Regions from separate parts of the Homo sapiens genome. Here regions 1 and 2 are each linked to region 3. Evidence: promoter capture Hi-C in human tissues and cell types (Jung and others, 2019). All regions are on one chromosome and are shown on one strand. The core of a region is centred on a gene start or on the middle of the fragment in contact, and the rest is flanking DNA. Distances in the headings are between cores, read along the strand shown. Region 1 holds the start of FOXRED2 (FAD dependent oxidoreductase domain containing 2). Region 2 holds the start of LGALS2 (galectin 2). Region 3 holds the start of TST (thiosulfate sulfurtransferase).

The links. Contacts are between HindIII fragments. The study calls those that stand out against the background at their distance.
Region 1: a contact is called between the fragment with the promoter of FOXRED2 here and the fragment with the promoter of TST in region 3, in 1 of the 25 tissues and cell types used here (dorsolateral prefrontal cortex).
Region 2: the fragment with the promoter of LGALS2 here is called in contact with the fragment with the promoter of TST in region 3 in 2 of the 25 tissues and cell types used here (lymphoblastoid cells and spleen).

What each region holds. Positions count from the first base shown.
Region 1 is chr22:36,505,084-36,508,641 of GRCh38, reverse strand. FOXRED2 (FAD dependent oxidoreductase domain containing 2) reads left to right here and starts at 1,602. Exons shown (of 9, transcript NM_001102371.2): 1 at 1,602-1,633; 2 at 2,219-2,746. The coding sequence starts at 2,220. RefSeq lists a silencer at 1,356-1,855. The HindIII fragment of the contact is 18,149 bases long and covers 1-3,558 here.
Region 2 is chr22:37,578,513-37,582,069 of GRCh38, reverse strand. It overlaps LGALS2 (galectin 2), which reads left to right and starts at 1,983. Exons shown (of 4, transcript NM_006498.3): 1 at 1,983-2,170. The coding sequence starts at 2,165. RefSeq lists a silencer at 1,597-1,656. The HindIII fragment of the contact is 22,309 bases long and covers 1-3,557 here.
Region 3 is chr22:37,017,650-37,021,500 of GRCh38, reverse strand. TST (thiosulfate sulfurtransferase) reads left to right here and starts at 2,054. Exons shown (of 3, transcript NM_003312.6): 1 at 2,054-2,101; 2 at 2,748-3,363. The coding sequence starts at 2,769. MPST (mercaptopyruvate sulfurtransferase) reads right to left here and starts at 1,759. Exons shown (of 3, transcript NM_021126.8): 1 at 1,629-1,759. The coding sequence starts at 1,664. RefSeq lists silencers at 1,443-1,762, 1,773-1,892, 1,923-2,312, 2,473-2,532 and enhancers at 2,006-2,507, 2,536-3,511. The HindIII fragment of the contact is 8,246 bases long and covers 1-3,851 here.

The DNA.
Region 1 (3,558 bases), core at 353-2,852, 510 kb after region 3:
CATATGCCCCATAAATATATACACATATGCCCCCAAAAATTTTTTTGAAAAATTGGCCAGGGGCCATGGCACACACTTGTAATCCCTAGCACTTTGGGAGGCTGAAGCAGGATCGCTTGAGCCTGGAAGGTCAGGGCTGCAGTGAGCCATGATTGTGTCACTGCACTCCAGCCTGGGTGACAGTGAGACTCTGTCTCAAAAAGAAGAAATAAGACATCCCTACTTTATTTTTGGCAAAGTATTCTGCCTGACCTCTCTGGTTGCAATGCTTATTCAACAAATGCTTAAACTTCCGTATGTCAGATACTGGACAATTTCTGCTCTGAGGGAGCTTTTCTCTGATGTTGACACAGACTGAAGAAAGTAAATGACATTCGGCCAGGCGCGGTGGCTCACGCCTGTAATCCCAGCACTTTGGGAGGCCGAGGCGGGCGGATCACGAGGTCAGGAGATCGAGACCATCCTGGCTAACACAGTGAAACCCTGTCTCTACTAAAAATACAAAAAATTAGCCGGGTGTGGTGGCGGGCACCTGTAGTCCCAGCTACTAGGGAGGCTGGGGCAGAAAAATGGCGTGAACCTGGGAGGTGGAGCTTGCAGTGAGCCGAGATCACGCCACTGCACTCCAGCCTGGGCGACAGAGTGAGACTCCATCTCAAAAAAAAAAAAAAAAGAAAAAGTAAATGACATTCTTTGGTAGGTACTTGTAGGCCTGAGAGGTCAGGAAAATTTTTCTAAGGAGTCCCCAGCTACGATTTTTAATTCAAAGAATCTCCAGCCATGCAAATCTGCAGGCTCGCAGTTCTTTCCACCTGCCCTTCCCCCAAGAACACTCAGCCCCATTTCACTGGACTTTGAAGGTTCCTACACTGACTTCGTATTTCTCCCCATGTAAATCTCATGCAGGGGCCACTTGCCACCCCTGGGAAGCCAACCTTCATCATCCAGTTCACGTTATCTTCCTCCTGCCATTTATCTTGCCTCCACTGAGTTTTAATTCCAGGCTCCACTTCCTGTGATTGTAAACATATCCCTTCATCCCTATGTCTCCATTTGACCAGTCAGCTACCAAATGTCGGAAACAATGCCTTGCCCACCTCTCCTATTTGGTGGAAGATTAGGACAGTCGTGTATGTTACTTGGTAAGCAGTACACTGAGTCACTGTAGCAAACGCTTGTTAATTGGCTTATCGGTCCTGGCTCCACCACGCTGGTTTCCAGTCCCACAAAACTGGGTAGGCCAACTAGTTTTAGCGTTTGGCTACATTCATGGAATATGAGAGCTAGGATTAGCTCCAAAAATCACGTGCTCCCCTCCCTCCGTGTAGAGAGGCACCTTTTAAAACGAAGGACCCAGTTCCCCATCCCGGATCTCCAGACCTTCCACCCTCGCGGGTGCGCGCTAGCCCCAGGCCCCTCTACCAGCCCCCGGAGCAGCGAACGCAGCACGCGCGCGCCTCTCCCGCGCTGGGCCGGAGCAGGCAGCCTGCCAGCTGGTCCCGGCGTGCCGCGCGCCGCGCACGTGACCCCGCCCCCTGCCATTGGTCCGGGCGCGAGGGGCGGAGCCGCCGCGGAGCAAGCGAGCCAAGCGCGGCCTCATTAGACCACGGGTTGCAGCCGGAGCGGCTGGGAGGTTCGCGCGTTTCTCAGGGTTCGGTCGGAGGCGGGGAGGCCGGAGCTGCGGGCGTAGGGACCTGGCGGCTCCTGAAGCGCACGCGGGCGGGCGGCAGGTGTGCGCGGCATCCCTGTCACGTGGCCGAAGAGCCTGGGGCGCGCGGACCCTGGCAGGGGGCGGGGCGCACGCAGGCCACACCCACTTCAGGCTCCCACCCGGTCGCTGGAGAGGGGCCAAGGCCTCTGGAAGGTCCAACCTGGAGGGTGGTTCAAAGGGGTGTTGGGCACCCTCAAATTAGGGGAAAATTGGGGAGTACGCTCTCCTTCCCCAGGGTGGAGGTTACTACAATCATAAGCGGGGAGCCGGTGCCCCTGAGGAAGGAGACCCTGAGGGAGATAAGATGGAGGGGCTCGGGATTCCGGGGAGCCCCAAGTCCCAGCTTGAAACGGTGGAGTCCGGGCAAATGAGCTCTGAGGACGGCTTCTGGGCCTGGCCGTGACCCAGATTGCAGTGAGAGTTCCCGCAGGCCCCGCCTCTTTCTGGGCCTCGTGTCTCCCAGCCGCCGGGCCGGGTGCGAGGCCTTACCCCTCTGATCTGCTGCAGGATGGGCCTCTCCGCTGCGGCCCCGTTGTGGGGTCCCCCGGGGCTGCTCCTGGCCATCGCCCTGCACCCAGCGCTGTCGGTGCCCCCGCGCCGGGACTACTGCGTGCTGGGCGCTGGGCCCGCGGGCCTGCAGATGGCCTACTTCCTGCAGCGCGCTGGACGCGACTACGCAGTGTTCGAGCGGGCCCCGCGGCCCGGCAGCTTCTTCACACGCTACCCGCGGCACCGCAAGCTCATCAGCATCAACAAGCGGTACACGGGCAAGGCTAACGCCGAGTTCAACCTCCGCCACGACTGGAACTCTCTGCTCAGCCACGACCCCCGGCTGCTCTTCAGACACTACTCGCGTGCCTACTTCCCCGACGCCCGCGACATGGTGCGCTACCTGGGTGACTTCGCGGACACGCTGGGGCTCCGTGTCCAGTACAACACCACCATCGCCCACGTCACTCTGGACAAGGACCGACAGGCCTGGAATGGCCACTACTTCATCCTAACTGACCAGAAGGGCCAGGTGCATCAGTGCAGGTAAGGCCGGTGCCAGAGCTCACCTGCGGAAGCTGGGACCTTCCCCACACGAACCACACACCTTGATTGGCCAGTAGGTATGGGAGGAATGGACGAAAAAGGGTATTTCGCTTTTTTTTTTTTTTAAGACGGAGTCTCACTCTGTCGCCCAGGCTGGAGTGCAATGGCACGAGGTCAGCTCACTGCAACCTCCGCCTCTCTAGTTCAAGCGATTCTCCTGCCTCAGCCTCCCCAGTAGCTGGGATTACAGGCAAGCACCACCACACCCGGCTAATTTTTTTATATTTTTGGTGGAGATGAGATTTCACGACGTTGGCCAGGCTGGTCTCGAACTCCTGACCTCAGGAGATCCACCCACCTCAGCCTCCCCAAATGCTGGGATTACAGGTATGAGCCACCGCACCCGGCCTTCAATTCTATTTTTGAAACCACTCTGTGATCAAAGCATTCTTCTGCAAGCCGGCAGGATCCAAGTCCCCAGCTGCCCTCCCCTGGATGGCGATCCTCACCAATGGAAGGAGCAGGACTTTGGAATCAAGCCTATCTGTGTTTAGACTCTGGCTCTGCTGCTTTTAGGAGCTCTCAAGCCATGGGCCTGCAGGGCCTGTGCCTCCTCACCTGTAAAGCAGGCCACATACCACCTCCAGGTTGCTTGGAGGAGTCAGAAAGATGGTGCACAGATACACTTAGTACAGGGCCTGGTACAGAATTACTGCTCAGTGGATAGATGTATCTGTCAGAGGACTCAGAAAGGGGAAAGTAGAATGTCAGGTTTCATTTCATCACCAGCAGTCATACCTGGTCTGACTGCT
Region 2 (3,557 bases), core at 734-3,233, 560 kb before region 3:
GCAGCAAAGTACGTAAATGATATGCATGGTCATTTTCCCCTGCTTTTGAACATTATTTTAAAACAAGTGAACTTTAAGTTCCTTTTACTGTGTGTACTTTCTGGAACCTCCTATAGTGAGATAATATTATTATTATAATCAGAAAAATGCCACCTTTAAAAGGTATAGTTTCTGTTGATTAGTTTCCAGGGAGAAAGCCTTTTAAAATTCCTTATCTCACTGGGGTTTTACCATGCCTTTGGGAGAAAGGCCGAGAGAGGATTAATTTCCTTGTGGGTGAAAGGAGGAAGTCACTCCTCACTCCGGGCTGGCAGGGGACTGAAGGTGGTGTCCTATGTGGGCACTGGGCAGTGAGCCACCTGCAGACTCCTGGCACCGAGGGCCCTCGGCAAGGCCAGTTCCCCACATCCTGCCCGGAGTGGCCACCGCCAACTCTGATGGAAAACGCTCTGGCTCGCCAAATCCTGAGCTCTAGAAAAGTTCTCCTTCTGGGAATCTGCCCTACATAAGTTGTCACGATGCAGCCAAAGTTTATGTCCAAATAGATTTAATGCAGCAGTATTTTTAATAGCAAAAATGTAGAATTAATGTGAGTGTTCAGCAGAAGGAAATTGGTTAAATAAATTCAGTCGTTGAAAGGTAGACTATTTCGCAGGCATTAAAGTATGGTTCTGAAATATAGATTTGTGGTCTTTAATGTTTCCCAAATGAAGAGAGATAAACAATTGCACAGACAGAGGGGTGTCTATAATGTAAATCTGTGGAGAACCGCCTGGAAGGAAATGTGCCAACAGCGTAAGCCAGTTCCCTCGTGGCGGTGGCATTATGAGTGATTATTTTTCTTTTTATTTAATATCTCTAATTGTCTATAGTAAGCATGCCAGTTACATAAGTAACAGAAGTCAAGAGCAAAGCATTTTCATCCTCCATGTCCCCCACTCAGCCCTCCCACTCCTTCTGCACTTTTATTTATTTTTTATTTTTTTATTTGAGACGGAGCCTCACTCTGTCGCCCAGGCTGGAGTGTAGTGGCGCGATCTTAGCTCCCTGTAACCTCCACCTCCCGGGTTCAAGCGATTCTCCTGCCTCAGCCTCTTGAGCAGCTGTGACTACAGGTGCGACCACGCCCAGCTAATTTTTGTATTTTTAGTAGAGATGGGGTTTCACCATGTTGGCCGGGCTGGTCACAAACTCCTGACTTCAGGTGATCCGCCTGCCTTGGCCTCCCAAAGTGCTGGGATTACAGGCTTAAGCAACCGCGCCCAGCTCTCCTCTGCTTTTGACCATTTGTTGTAAATAGTTTGAAATCTTTTCTTTGAATCCGTGTATTGGTTTTGAAACCTACATGTCCGATCAGATAAATAATATGGGGAGGGAAGAAGAAAACATAATGCTCTCTGACAATGAATCATAACATCATAGAAAATTAGAACCTTAGGCCAGGCGCAATGGCTCACGCCTGTAATCCCAGCACTTTGGGAGGCCAAGGTGGGCAGATCACGAGGTCAGGAGATCGAGACCATCCTGGCTAATACGGTGAAACCTCGTCTCTACTAAAAATACCAAAAAATTAGCCGGGCATGGTGGCGGGTGCCTGTAGTTCCAGCTACTCGGGAGGCTGAGGCAGCAGAATGGTGTGAACCCAGGAGATTGCATTGAGCGGAGATCGTTGCCACTGCACTCCAGCCTGGGTGACAGAGTGAGACTCTGTCTCAAAAAAAAAAAAAAAAGAAAATTAGAAACCTAGACTTTTTTTTTTTTTTGCAAAGCAAATCTCTCTTTTTACAGGCAAGGAAGCTGGGCTAAGTGAGGGAGGCTGGGAGAGCTGTCAAGCGGCTGCATTGCGGTTTGTGTGGGGGCAGAGCTGGGGCTGCTTCCCCTCTCGGGCTCTGGGAGCGCTGAGGAGGGGGAGGCTGGGCTGGAGGGAGGCCAGGAGGATGCTCCGGGCTGGGTGGGGTGGAGCTGGCTGAGGAGTCTTCTGCCTGTTTGTGCTGGGTACTGGGAGATGCAGGCGGGGAGACACAAGGTAGAAGGGGCAAAGTCCTCACCTAGGACCTTGAGGGAGTTAATGTGTAATATTCTAGGATATAAGCTTGACCACGAGTTGAGACCCTGAGCACAGGCCTCCAGGAGCCGCTGGGAGCTGCCGCCAGGAGCTGTCACCATGACGGTGAGGACACTAGCCCCCTGCTGCCTGCCCCACTCTGTTCATCTTTGTCTTTGCCTGGGTGGGGGCTTTTAGGGAAAACCATTGCTGTCCCTCTCTGGGCCTCAGTTTCCCCATCTGTGCAGCAAAGAAGTTGGACAGAGGTCTTTTTTTAAAAAACAGCATCTTGGGCCAGGCGTGGTGGCTCCTGCTTGTAATCCCAGCACTTTGGGAGGCCGAGGCTGGTGGATCATCTGAGGTTGGGAGTTTGAGACCAGCCTGACCAACATGGAGAAACCCCGTCTCTACTAAAAAAATACAAAATTGGCTAGGCCTGGTGGCACATGCCTGTAATCCCAGCTAATGGGGAGGCTGAGGCAGGAGAATCACTTGGACCTGGGAGGCAGAGGTTATGGTGAGCCGAGATTGTGCCATTGCACTCCAGCCTGGGCAACAAGAGTGAGACTCCATCTCAAAACAACAACAACAATACAGCATCTTGCTCTGTCACCAGGTGGAGTGCAGTGGTGGCAATCATAACTCACTACGGACTTGACCTCCTTGGCTTAAATGATCCTCCCACCTCAGCCTCTTGAGTAGCTGGGACCCCAGGCACTCACTACCACACTGGCTAATTTTGTTTGTTTCTTTTCTTTCTCTTTTTTTTTTTTTTTTTGAGATGGAGTCTCGCTCTGTTGCCCAGGCTGGAGTGCAGTGGCCCGATCTCAGCTCACTGCAACCTCTGCTGCCTGGGTTCAAGCAATTCTCTGGTCTCAGCCTCCCAAGTAGCTGGGATTACAGGTATGTGTCACCACACCTGGCTAATTTTTTTTTTTTTGTTGAGATGGAGTTTCTGTTGCCCAGGCTGGAGTGCAATGGCACGATCTCGGCTCACCACAACTTCCACCTCCCAGGTTCAAGCGATTCTCCTGCCTCAGCCTCCTGAGTAGCAGGGATTACAGGCATGGGCCACCACACCCGATTAATTTTGTATTTTTAGTAGAGATGGGGTTTCTCCATGTTGGTCAGGCTGGTCTTGAACTCCTGATCTCAGGTGATCCACCTGCCTTGGCCTCCCAAAGTGCTGGGATTACAGGTGTGAGCCACTGCTCCTGGCCTAATTTTTGTATTTTTAAAGTAGAGACAGGGTTTCACCATGTTGGTCAGGCTGATCTCGAACTCCTGACCTCAGGTGATCCGCCCACCTTGGCCTCCCAAAGTGCTGGGATTACAGGTGTGAGCCACCCCACCCAGCTTATTTCTTATTTTTCGTAGAGATGAGGTCTCACTATGTTGCTCAGGCTGATATCAAACTCCTGGGTTCAAGGGATCCTCCTGCCTTGGCCTCTCGAAGTGCTGAGATTACAGGTGTGAGCCACTGTGCCTGGCCTCCATTGATCTTTATAGAGAT
Region 3 (3,851 bases), core at 805-3,304:
ACTCCATCTCAAAATAATAATAATAATAATAATATTGCATTATTTCTTCCATTACTCTCATTGGTGGCCCTGGAACTGCCAGCAGCAAATCTAAAATCTTAGAATTTCAGGGCTTGGTGGGACTTCAGAGATCTGAGGTCACCCTGCCCCAGTCTCCCTGCTTGATTGGCACTTCTCACAAAGGTCTGTGGGCCATAAAGGAGGGTGTGAAGGCAGGCTGTGGGTGTCAGGGAGGGGTAGAAACCAGGTGCCTGTGTGATTCAGAAGCCGGGATCACTGTAGGTGAGGGTGCCCTGGGAGTGGAGGACCCCAGGACGTAACCGCCCCAGGCTCATGTCAGAAGGATACACAGCTGCACTGAAGCAAGCGTGAGCCGCAGGCTGGATCCAGGGTACCCCTTGAGGAGCAGAGCTTGGGAGCTCCTCTTGGACCTCCCCAGCCTGGTCCCTCCTGCCCACCCCCTCCCCCAACCACCAGACACTAGGCTTTGAGGATTGCTGTGAGCATTTTAGAACAAAACCTTTTTTTAAAAAGAGGGATGAGGCCAGGGATGGTGGCTCATGCCTGTAATCTCAGCACTTTGGGAGGCTGAGATGGGCAGATCACTTGAGCCCAGGAGTTCAAGACCAGCCTGGACAACATGGTGAAACCCCATCTCTACCAAAAATTTAAAAATTAGCCGGGAATGGTGGCACATGCCTGTGGTCCCACCTACTTGGGAGGCTAAGGTGGGAGGATCGCTTGAGCCTGGGAGGCGGAGGTTGCAGTGAGCTGAGATGGCGCCACTGCACTCCAGTCTGGGCCACAGAACCACAGCCTGTCTCAAAAAACAAAACAAAACAAAAGGTCAGGGTTGGGAAACAGGGAAAGCTTCCAGGCTGGCCTCTGCAAAAGCTAGGGAGGGGCAATGGTGTCCCCCAGTTTGCAAGAGCCCATGGCGAGCTTTTCAGGAATTTTGCCAACTGGTTGTTAAATACAGCTATTATTAAAAATTGAATTACATCAACTTATGATTAAACGGGCTAAGTTCAAAACAGGCAATTTTTTAAAAAGCATGAACCTTCAGGGAAGAGCCAGGTAAACAAAGGCAGCTGGTACCACGTGGGCTTCAGACCAGGGATCAGGCCCGGCCTCAACTCTGGGTGTGTCCTCCAGCAACTCGCTCTGCCGCTCTCTCCTGTCTTAGTAAGTTTCTGGCCTACTCCTCAGGGTTATTGTGGGAATTAAGTCACACCACGGGAGTACCCAGCAAAGTGCCACACCAAGCAGGGCTGGACAATGTTAGTTCCTTTCACTCACTAACAAGTTATTGGCTAGTGTCTCTTCCTGGGGCCTCTGGGTCAGCGGGGTCTCGTCTCCCTGTCCTCCTCTCTCTCCCCCGCCCTCTCTGGTGCCACCAGGTCACCCACTTCCACCCAAGGCTCCCCACCCGCCACTCGCCACGACCCCACCCGGCAGGCCGCCCCAAGCGGACAGTCACCCTTAGTGCCAACGTAGCGGCGCGCCTTCTCTCCTAGACTAAGCCCCCTCTTCCGCCCAGGTCCCGCGCGGGAGCCCCGCGCCGAGCACCCCCAAAGAGCCACTCCCTCCCCCTCCAGAAAGGCAAGCCGCCACGCCGCGGCAGTTACCCGGGTCTCGGACTCCCGGCTTCCTGGCTCCGCCATGGCCCCCGCGGCGCGGCGCCCCCTCCCCGCGCCCGCAGCTGTCCCCTCCTCCCGCCACCAACCTGCAGCGGACCAAAGGGAGGAGACTCCGGCACAGCCCACCGCCGCGGCCACTCGGAGCCGCTGCTGCCCGCGCCTTCCACTGGCCGGGCCGTGGGGGTACGCCCGCTCCGCCCAGCCCAGGCCCGCGCGGCCCCCGCGCCACCCGGCGTCCCCCTCAGACCCCCGCGGGTCCCGGAGGCCCCGCGCGCGAGGTTGGCAGGTGCCGGGCGCGAAGCGGCCGCGCGGGGGAGGCGCGGGATGGCGGCGGGCGGCGCAGGGTCCCCCTCTGGCGGTGGCGCGATGGTGCGCGCCGCCTGGGGAGCTGCGGCCGGGGGTTTGAACCGGCCAACTTCTCCAGCCGGCCGGGGCGAGCGCCAGCGCGGCGTCCGGGGCGAGTGAGTGCGGGGCGGGGGCAGCGGCCGGGCGCCTGGGCCGCCGGTCGGGCCACCTGCTGCCCGGGGAAGGATAGCGTTGCGAGAGTGGGACGGGGTGCCCCGGGAACCCCTGATCCACCTAGGGCAGAGGGCAGCGAGCTACGGGCCGGACTCGGGCACTCTGGAGGCGGGCGAGCTCGGGCTGCCTGGGGAGGCCGCAGGCGATGGCGTGTGCGCGGCTCGCGGAGCTTCCTAGCCGTGCGCCCACCCCCTCTGCCTTGGAAGGAAAGGGGATTCTAAGCCCAAGATGCCATCGCCCCCCATCCCGGGCATGCTTTCATTGCTCTTTCCTGGCGGGATCGAGTACTGTAACTTCTAGGAGCCAGATCCCCGCCCCAGGAAGCGCCCCTACTTGGAGTCCTCGGAAACTCTTGCCCCACCCGCTTCTGCGCTGGGCCCCCGGGCCGGCTGGGAGGGGCGGGGCCGGCTTTCCAGAGGGAATCTGCAAACTTATCCCGCTGCACGCCCCAGCCTCGCTGGCTTGCTGTAAACAAGGAACCCGGGGGAGTGCGGAGGGAGAAAGAGCTTCTCCCAGGCCTCACCCTACTGCACACACCGACTTCCTTCCTCACGCCTGTCTCTCTTTCCTGGTTCCCACCCGTGCCAGGTGACACGCAGAGCTGAAGCCATGGTTCATCAGGTGCTCTACCGGGCGCTGGTCTCCACCAAGTGGCTGGCGGAGTCCATCAGGACTGGCAAGCTGGGGCCCGGCCTGCGGGTGCTGGACGCGTCCTGGTACTCACCAGGCACCCGAGAGGCCCGCAAGGAGTACCTCGAGCGCCACGTACCCGGCGCCTCTTTCTTTGACATAGAAGAGTGCCGGGACACGGCGTCGCCCTACGAGATGATGCTGCCCAGCGAGGCTGGCTTCGCCGAGTATGTGGGCCGCCTGGGCATCAGCAACCACACGCACGTGGTGGTGTATGATGGTGAACACCTGGGCAGCTTCTATGCTCCCCGGGTCTGGTGGATGTTCCGTGTGTTTGGCCACCGCACCGTATCAGTGCTCAATGGTGGCTTCCGGAACTGGCTGAAGGAGGGCCACCCGGTGACATCCGAGCCCTCACGCCCAGAACCGGCCGTCTTCAAAGCCACACTGGACCGCTCCCTGCTCAAGACCTACGAGCAGGTGCTGGAGAACCTTGAATCTAAGAGGTTCCAGCTGGTGGATTCAAGGTCTCAAGGGCGGTTCCTGGGCACCGAGCCGGAGCCGGATGCAGTAGGTAGGTGTCCCAGTGCTGGGTGGTCCCTGGGGAGTATTGCCCCATGGAAGGATAGGGAGTAAGGATGACTGGGACCCTCTCCAGGGTCCGTCCCATGCCTTCAATCCTCCCATGTAGGCCTCAGTCTTTCCATCGATAAAACCAGAAAGTGGAGACAAACCTAAAGGCTTTTTCAGCTTGGATGCACAAGGACCCAAGAATGTGTCCTCATAGCCATGTGCTAAGAAGCCACCTAGCATCTGTGTGAGCAGAAGTCACTGGTGACATGTCCACCACCTCCACTCCCAGGCACCAGCTGCCCCACATGTACTAGGATATACCTAAGGGTGTCATGCCCCTGAGCCAGCGTTTGCATTGCTGTACAGAAACCTCCCACGGACACATCCAGCTTCTCCAGGCCTCTCTCGTCCCGCAGAAACCCTTATAGACATCAACAGTGTCCCTCCCCGCAGGATCCCCCTCTCCCCAAATCTAGCTCTCCTGGGGCC